Regions from separate parts of the Homo sapiens genome. Here region 1 is linked to region 2. The links are contacts of gene promoters, found by promoter capture Hi-C in human tissues and cell types (Jung and others, 2019). All regions are on one chromosome and are shown on one strand. The core of a region is centred on a gene start or on the middle of the fragment in contact, and the rest is flanking DNA. Distances in the headings are between cores, read along the strand shown. Region 1 overlaps CDC42BPB (CDC42 binding protein kinase beta). Region 2 holds the start of TRAF3 (TNF receptor associated factor 3).

Region 1 (4,748 bases), core at 930-3,429, 260 kb before region 2:
GAGTAGCTGGGATTGCAGGCACCCGCCACGACGCCTGGCTAATGTTTGTATTTTTAGTACAGACAGGGTTTCACCATGTTGGCCAGGCTGGTCTCGAACGCTTGACCTCAGGCGATCCACCCACCTTGGCCTCCCAAAGTGTTGGGATTACAGGCGTGAGCCACTGCGCCTGGCCACTTTATCTATTTTTACGTGTTCAATTCAGTGGCATTAATTAAATTCACAGTGCAGGGGTAAGAGTTGCACTTACTTTCTTAAATTTATTCCTGAGGTAAATTGATTTTTATATATTGATCTTTTATCCTGCAAAATTGCTGAACTTTTTAATTAGTTTTAGTAGTTTTTTTAGTGAATTCATTAGAATTTTTACATAAAAAATCATATAAATTTTATATATAAAATTATCTCTGTGAGTACAGATAGTTCTGCTTCTTCCTTTTCAACTTGGATACCTTTAATTTCTTTTTGTTGTCTACTTGCCCTGCCTAGAACCTTCAGTACAGTGTAGGGTAGAAACAGCACTAGGGACATTCTTGTCTTTCTTCTGATCTTAGGGAGAAAGCGTGTAGCCTTCACCATTAAGTGTGGCATTAGCTGCGGGTTTTCATAAATGCCCCTTTTCAGGTTGAGGAAGTTTCCTTCTATTTCTAGTTTGTTAAGTTTTTGATGTGAAAGGGTGTTGGATTTTGTCGTGATTTTTCTGCATCCATTGAGATAGTTGTGTGGCTCGTTTTCTTCTGTTGATATGGTGTATTGCATTAATTGGTTTTTGTTTGTTGAACCAACCTCACATTCCTGGGATGAATCCCACTTGATCATGGTATATAATTCTTTCTCTGTGTTTGTGAATTTCGTTTGCTAGTATTGTATTTTGTTAAAGATTTTGGCATCTATTCATAAAGGTAATTGATTCTAGTTTTCTTTCCTTGTATGTCTTTTTTTTTTTTTTTTTTTTGGTTTGGTATCAAGATAATACTGGCCTTATAGAATGATTTAGGAAGTGTTCTCCTTTTTCTGGAAGAGTGTGAAGAATTGGTAATAACTCTTATTTAAATGTTTGGTAGATGCACCTGTGAAGCTGTCCAGGCCTGGATAGCTTTCTTGGTATTTTTTTGATTACTAGTTCAATCTTTGTGCCTGTTGTAGATCTATTAACATTTTCTCTTTCTTCAAGAGTCAATTTTGGTAGTTTGTGTCTTTTTATAAATTCGTCCATTTCACCTAGATTATCTAATTTGTTGGCATACAGTTGTTCATAGTTTTTCTTAATAATCTTCTTTACTTCTGTTAATGTCAGTAGTGTCCCTTCTTTTATTTCCATCCTAGCAATTTGAGTTGCTGCTGTTTTTTTTCTTGGTCAATCTCAAAAAACGGTTAAAATTGTACATTTTATGTTACGTATATTTTACCATAATAAAAGGTAATTGTAGCCTGTAATCCCAGTACTTTGGGAGGCTGAGGTGGGCGAATCACTTGAGTCCAGGAGTTCGAGACCAGCTTGGGCAACATAATGAGACCCGCCCCCCCCCCCCGTCTCTACAAAAAATAGAAAAATTAGCTGGGCATGGTGGTGCTCACCTGTAGTCTCAGCTACTCGGGAGGCTGAGGTGGGAGGATTGCTTGAACCCAGGAGGTGGAGTTTGCAGTAAGCCGAGCTCATGCTGCTGCACTCCAGCCTGGGAACAGAGTGATACTGTGTCTCAAAAAATAAAAAGTAATTGTAAGTAAGAGTAACTGAGATCCATCCACATGATTGGGTATAGCTGCAGCTTAGTTCCTTGTGGTTATTGTGTAGTGTCCACTGTATTCACAACCCTCTCTTTGTCCACTCCTGATGGACATCTGGGTTGCCCGCTTTGGGGCTATTAAGGAGTGCTGAAGTTGTTTTGGTTTTTTTTTTTTTTTTGAGACAGAGTCTCGCTCGCTCTGTTGTCCAGGCTGGAGTGCAGTGGTGTGATCTCGGCTCACTGCAAGCTCCGCCTCCTCCCAGGTTCACGCTATTCTCCTGCCTCAGCCTCCCGAGTAGCTGGGACTACAGGCATGTGCCACCATGCCCAGCTAATTTTTGTATTTTTAGTAGAGACGGGGTTTCGCCATGTTGACCAGGATGGTCTTGATCTCTCGACCTCGTGATCCACCCACCTCGGCCTCCCAAAGTGCTGGGATTACAGGCATGAGCCACCGCACCCAGCCAGTTTTTAAAATTCTTTTTTTTTTTTGAGACGGAGTCTTGCTCTGTTGCCCAGGCTGGAGGGCAGTGGCATGATCTCGGCTCACTGCAAGCTCCGTCTCCCGGGTTCACACCATTCTCCTGCCTCAGCCTCCCAAGTAGCTGGGACTATAGGCGCCCGCCACCACGCCCAGCTAATTTTTTGCATTTTTAGTAGAGACGCGTTTCACTGTGTTAGCCAGGATGGTCTCGATCTCCTGACCTTGTGATCCACCTGCCTCGGCCTCCCAAAGTGCTGGGATTACAGGTGTGAGCCACCACGCCCGGCCTAAAATTCTTTAAAAACTCCTCTCCACATATCTCTTGAGCCACCTCCCTTAGCTTTGGGCTTTACAAAGCCCTTAGCTTTGGGCCCGTCCTTGGAGGGCAGTTGTAGGTAAGCTGAGCTGCGGTTTTCTGTGATTTGGGATTGCCCCTCATACCATGTATTGAAAGTATCAGAATACCAATCACAAAAGGTACATTTGGCAAGTACTATTTTTATTTTAATTTTTTTTAATTATGAAAATAAGCCTGAGCGACATAGCAAGGCCCCGATTCTACAAATTATACAAAAATTAGCTGGGCATGGTGGTGCACACCTGTAATCCCGGCTGCTCGGGAGGCTGAGATGGGAGGATTGCTTGAGCCTGGGGAGGTCGAAGCTGCAGTCAGCTATGATTGTGCCACTGTACTCCAGCCTGGGTGACACAGTGAGACGCTGTCAAAAAGAAAAAGAAAAGCGTGCTCATGATAAAATAAATTTAAGCAGTACAAGAAGTAGGTATGCCACGAAAAGTGAAAGTCTCCTTCCCCCGAGTTTATTATAATTGTCTTTCTTGCTTTTTTATTTTAAAGCATGTTCTAGTCTTTTTCCATTAAAATTGAATGTTAATTTGAAAGATTGTTTTAAACATTAAAAGCTGATTTTGATAAGTCTAAAAGTCTGAGATGGCCAGACGTGGTGGCTCACGCCTATAAGAGGTGGGCAGATATACCTGAGTCCAGCCTGGGCAGCATAGCGAAACCCTGTCTCTACAAAAAAAAACACAAAAATTAGCTGGACGTGGTGGTGTGGGCCTGTGTCCTAGCTACTCAGGAGGCTGAGGCAGGAGAATTGCTTGAGCCTGGGAGGTCGAGGCTGCAGTGAACCATGATTGTGCCACTGTACTGCAGCCTGGGCGACAGAGCCAGACATTATCTCAGTAAATAAATAAAATAAAAAGTCACGACTTTTAATGAGAAATTAATGTTGAAATATGGTTATTGCATGTATCAGAACTGTGATTTTAGTTTGGCTATTTTTTATTGTCTGTATTGATATACATGCTATAGAATCATATGTGCATTCCCAGAATAAAACATGCTTAGCTGTGGCATTTTATTCTCTAACTGCACAGTTGAGCCTATCGTATTCATTTTTTTTATTATTTTTTTAAATCTGTATTTCCAAATGAGGAGTAGTCTGTAGATAGTCTGTGGTTTTAACTTTTGTATGTTATCTTTGGAATATTTTGGCGTCAGAATTACTGTAGTTTTAGGAAAAATTAAGAAGCTTTCAGTCTTGTGTTTAAGAATATTTTAGGCTGGGCGCGGTGGCTCACGCCTATAATCCCAGCACTTTGGGAGGCCGAGGCAGGTGGATCACGAGGTCAGGAGATCGAGACCATCCTGGCTAACATGGTGAAACCCCGTCTCTACTAAAAATACAAAAAAAAATTAGCCGGGCGTGGTGGCGGGTGCCTGTAGTCCCAGCTACTCGGGAGGCTGAGACAGGAGAATGGTGTGAACCCAGGAGGGGGAGCTTGCAGTGAGCTGAGATCGCGCCACTGCAGTCCAGCCTGGGCGACAGAGCGAGACTCCCACTCAAAAAAAAAAAAAAAAAGAATATTTTATTTTATTTTTATTTTTTGAGACAGAAGTACAGTGGCATGATCATGGCTCACTGCAGCCTTGACCTCCTGGGCTCAGGTGATCCTTCCACCTCAGCATCCCCAGTAGCTGGTACTACAGGTGCGTGCCACCACACTTGGCTAATTTTTGTATTTTTGTACAGATGAGGTTTCGTCATGTTGCCCAGGTTGGTTTCGAACTCCTGAGCTAAAGCGATCCTCCTGCCTTGGCCTTCCAAAGTGCTGGTGTATTACAGGTGTGAGCCACTGTGCCCGGCCTTATTTTTTTTTATTTTTTATTTTTTTTGAGACAGAGTCTTGCTCTGTCACCCAGGCTGGAATGCAGTGGCGTGATCTCCGCTCACTGCAAGCTCCGCCTCCCGGGTTCATGCCATTCTCCTGCCTCAGCCTCCTGAGCAGCTGGGACTACAGGCGCCCGCCACCACATCCAGCTAGTTTTTTGTATTTTTAGAAGAGATGGGGTTTCACCATGTTAGCCAGGATGGTCTCAATCTCCTGACCTCGTGATCCACCCACCTTGGCCTCCCAAAGTGCTGGGATTACCGGCATGAGCCACCGCACCTGGCTGCCTGGCCTTGTTTTTAGTATTTTGTAGAGTTGAAGTCTTACTATGTTGCCCAGGCTGG
Region 2 (4,578 bases), core at 1,542-4,041:
CTATCCCCTGTACCTCTCCCGGGCGTCTGGGCCTCCCTCATTCTGGCTTCATCACTCCTGCTGAAAGCAAGTCTAAGCATCATTTCCACAATCAGGCCTCGGCTGCTTCTCTCTGGTAGCCTTCCAAATCCTCTGGCCTCACCTCCTTCTTTCTCACTCTTCCCACTTTCTCTGTATCTGAAGTCAGTTATTATGACTCTTCCATGCAAAAAAAGAACACCAAGTGATTTTTCTTCCTCCATGAACACTCGCAAAGCAGCAGCAAGGGGTCCTGATTCCATGGAGTGGACCCTAAGGGCCTTGGCCACGAGACGTCGCCTCTGCTAAGTTAACAGTTCTTTAAACTGACCATTGCAAGGAAATTCAGCTATTGCATAATACTTGATAGGTTAGATCACTTGCTGTTTGGAGAGTCTTGCTATATGAAGATGAGAAAATAGAGTTGGGCAAATTTAACGCAATTTCCTTTGTTTGCTTGAGCTAGCTCAGACTTGCAACGCCACAGTGGCAGTTTTATCTTTCTTAAAGTACAGCTTTAACATCATAAAAAAGGATTTTAAGGGAGTGATCAATCATTCTCACCTAACCTGACAATATCATTAGCATACGTATCCTGACAATACCCTAGAAAGGTCCTTCTTGAGTTGCACAGTGAAAAATTAAAGGGATTCTTGCAGGAGTATTTAGAGAATCAGAATCCGCAACGCAGGCTCAGATGTCTCAGTTAAATGAAGGACTTTCTTCAAGGCACAAACAAGAGTAGGGATATTTTGATGGTATTAACAGAAACAACTGGCCACTGTTACTGCCTGTTTCCAGTGAAATGTCTTTACAGCCTCTCACTGAGTGAAGCCATCTTATTAATTCCAAAAGAAGGGACAGCATCCAAGGAAAATAATTGGTCTTCTTTCCCCTCGCAGAGAAATTCACATGAATGTCTCAAAAAAAAAAAAAAAAAAAAAAAAAAAAAGCTGGAATTCTCCCTGGCCAGCTCTCTCTCCTTTCCTGGCTTCTGCATTGACAGCTGGAACAGATGGCGTCTGGGTGAGACACCTTACATCTTAACCCTTATCCATGATAAGGTCTGATTTTCACCAGCGATGCTGGAATCCAAGGTCTGTCAGGGTTTCCGTCATGAGCACCCACTCACAGGATTTCCAGTCCCATGTGATGTTTTCCAGTTTTCATATCGATAAGGCTTATCTTGTTTTGGCCAAAGAATTTTCATCTTTAGACTAATTCTTAACATTTACATTGTCACAACGCGGCGAAAAGGTACACATTTCCTCTCATTTGAGAAAAGAACGCTGTACACTATTTTGCCAGACATCCTACATATGATGCAGTCTGTTCACAGGCCATTTTCAAAGACGTGAGAGACATGAGAAGATCTCAGGACGAACTGATGGTCCACTTGGCCATTCCCTACAGTAAGAATTTTATAGACAAATACAGGGTAACAGCAAACAACATTTCCAAACGCTCCGGCAGTGTGTAGTCGCAGCAAATGCTAGGAAAAAAAATAAATAATGGCTCCTCTTCAGTTGTATGCCGTGAATGTAAATTAAGAAGCCGCTACAACGCTCGACATAACCTTTCTGACGCCACAAAAATGAATGAATTATATCCATACACACACACAGGCACACACACCACGCACCACGCATCACATGTCATTCTGAAAACTGATTCTGAGCTTAATTCGAAAAACGTGAAATACAACTGGTCCCGTCAACAGCTCGTAATCTGAAGGTTTCTTGCATTTCCAAGCACGTCCATAACACCTCATCCGTTTCCAGTTTGTTACTGTTTCCAACCGAAGGGAGAGAATTTTCCACACAGAATTATCTCCTCGGGTCCAAATACTAGACCGAAGTCCCCACACGGGGCTGGCTGGCGGCGTGGAACCGGCCAGCCCGCCGAGAGCCGCCTGGCGCCCGCGGGGAAGACGCAGAGCCCGCGGCCAGGAGCCGCCCGGTGCCCCGGGAGTCGCCGGCCCTCGGCGGCCGCGCGAGGGGGATTCGCGCCCTCTGCCCATACCCGGACCCCCGCGCCGCCCGCCAAGCGGTCGGAGGCGCCTCTGAGGCGGAATGACTCAGGACCAACTTTCCAATAACGCCCGGGCCCCCCCGGCCGGCCCGGGCAGCGCGCTCGGCCACGCAGCCCCTGAGCCGCCCGTCCCCCCGCGTGAAACCCGCGGCCCCGCGGGGTGCCGGGTCCTCAACGCCAGCGGGGGTCACGGCCGTAGCGAGGCCTGCGCGCCCCGTTTCCTGAAAAGGTGCGGGCGCCCCGGCCCCCTCGGGCCCCGAGCCCGGCCTCCGGGACAAAGTTTGCCGAAGTTGAGGCGTCCGGAGGCGGGAGGCAGCCCGGCTGGGGCGCGGGGCCAGGCTGAAGCCGCGCCCCGCCGTCGCCGCTGGGACGGGCCGGGCCTGCGCCGCGCCGGGCCCGCGCCGGGCAGCCCCGAGGCCCCCGGGCCCCGCCGCCCAGGGCGCGGGATGGAGGCGACGGGGATGGAGGCGCCCGGCCGCGCGCCGGAGGCCCGCCCGCCCGCCGCGGCCCCTTACCTCGCGGTCCGTCGCCGCTCGGCCGGCTCAGGGGCGCCGGGCGCGTCCTCCGCCGCGGTCCGCAGCGTTCTGCTCCCCGGGCTGCCCCATGGCGGGGGGCGGGGAAGAGCCGGCGGCCGCCGCGGCTGCCGCCGGCTGGAAAGTCCCGGCTGGGCTGCAACCCCGGCTCGCGCACGCGGCGGCCGCGCCGCGCTCCCTCGCTCCCTCGCTCCCTCACGCAGCCCCGCGCAGGCACTTCCTCTCGCGCGCTGGAAATCCCCGGCGCGCCCGCCGCCCCGCCCCCGCCGCCCGCGCGCGTGGGAGCGGCAGGAGCCCGCGAGCGCCGCCGGCCCCACGCGCCCGCCGGCCCCCCGCGCGCGCCCGCGACCCGTTGCTAAGGGCCCTAGCGCCCGGCGGCCGCCCGCCCGGCCTTAGCAACGGCGGCGCCGCGGCGCGGGGCGGGGACGGCCCCGGGCGCCCCCCGCCTCCCTCCCGTCCCCGCCGCGCGCCCCGCGGGCCTCCTCGCTCTGCGCCGCCCCCGCCGCGCCCCCGCCGCCGCGCGTCCCCGCGTCCCCGCCTTTCCGGGTCAAAAAGCCACGCAGGCCGCGTGGGGGCCGAGAGGTGCTGGCGCCGCTCCTCCCCGCGGCCACCTCGCCCGCACCCCCCACGCCAGCATAGCATACGCAGCCCCCGTGCGTGCACGCCCGTGTGCCCATGGCCACACGCGACCCCTACGCACACGCACGGGTCCGATATGCGGCCCCCCGCACTGTCGCGGACGCATACACGACGGTCACATTCCCCTCAAGCGGACACGCACACACACGCTCACCAACACCGTGCGCACGCGTACCAGGCCACGCACCCTCGCGCACACGCAGGTGGGGCTGAGGGTGACTCAGGCCGTGGAGCCCCTTTTCGCATGCAGAGGGCAGGGCTCCACATTAGTTTGGTGGCACTTTCCTTTCTCCCTCCCTTGGACCCTCCCACGCCCCCGGAGTGGTGTCTTGCTCACGGGTGGACAGGGTAGCCAGTTTGCCACGTGCCCCCAGCGTCCTCGGCGGTCCTGGCTGCCCCTGCGCCCCCTGCACCCTCCACCAGGCCGCTGGGGCCTGCGCATTTCTCCCGAGGCCTCTGCCTTCTGCCCCAAAGGCATCAGTGGTGTGTCAGTGATTCACCTAGGCCCACCAAGGCAGCACCCAGCCTGGCTGGGCCTGGCGAGGTGGGAAGCGAAGGGAGGGCTTCTGGGAGGCTCTGGGCCAGCTGAGGGGTGAGGCCTTCGCTGGAGTTTGCAAGTCAGTGGTGAGGGGACAGAAAGGACTTTGCATTTTTCACTTCTCAAGAAGGCTTATAAAGAGCCCTACCCCAGAGCTGAGACCAGTGTGAGTAGCCAAGGCCAGTCTGCCTTCTTGTATTGCTCCAGTGACTCATGTGAGTGGAGGCAGGAAGTCCAGCATCTCCTCCTACAGCTTCACCCATGGAACGTTCCAGAACCCCAGATAGTCCGACCTGGCTGCTGGAAGTCTATCTGGACATCAGAGACATTGGACCATGTCTCTGGCTCCATTAGCCCAACAGATGCTTGTTCTACAGCCACACTCACCAGGCCACAGTGGCACCCCCGTCTGCGCCACAGGCACAGCTCTTTTAGAGGTGACAGGCCCGCCTTCGCCGTCCCTCACAGGGACCTATGGACTCCAGCGGTCTCCCCCACCCCCATGGTGGACTCCCCTTGGGAGCCTCAGGTGCCCTTTCTTGCCTGTCAGGAGTTGGGATGTTACTGACCTCAGGCTCAGGGTCCCAACCACTTCCCATAGCCCAGGCACTGAGGCCTCCCATGTCCCCAGCCCTGCTTAGCCCACAGTCCTGGCACCCTGTCGACTGGGGCCCACTCCCAACGCCTGCCTTATGCTGTGTGTTACCTATGGCCTGGTTTAACTTTGCCAAAATCAGGAAAGACTCCCTTTCCTAGGCTGGACTATTTTTGGTTGTTTTAAAAGAAGCAGGACATGGACCGGGCATGGTGGCTCACACC

What was found. The method cuts DNA at HindIII sites, captures the fragments that hold promoters and counts their contacts. A contact is called where the count stands out against the background at its distance.
Region 1: a contact is called between a fragment that was not itself captured here and the fragment with the promoter of TRAF3 in region 2, in 1 of the 25 tissues and cell types used here (small bowel).

What each region holds. Positions count from the first base shown.
Region 1 is chr14:103,035,500-103,040,247 of GRCh38, reverse strand. All of the region lies in intron 1 of CDC42BPB (CDC42 binding protein kinase beta), which reads left to right. Among named protein-coding and RNA genes, the nearest start is that of CDC42BPB, 20 kb to the left of the region's middle. The HindIII fragment of the contact is 7,768 bases long and covers 1-4,748 here.
Region 2 is chr14:102,775,662-102,780,239 of GRCh38, reverse strand. It overlaps TRAF3 (TNF receptor associated factor 3), which reads right to left and starts at 2,791. Exons shown (of 12, transcript NM_145725.3): 1 at 2,565-2,791. RefSeq lists silencers at 1,949-2,008, 2,249-2,298, 2,509-3,118, 3,209-3,268 and an enhancer at 3,979-4,218. The HindIII fragment of the contact is 12,756 bases long and covers 1-4,578 here.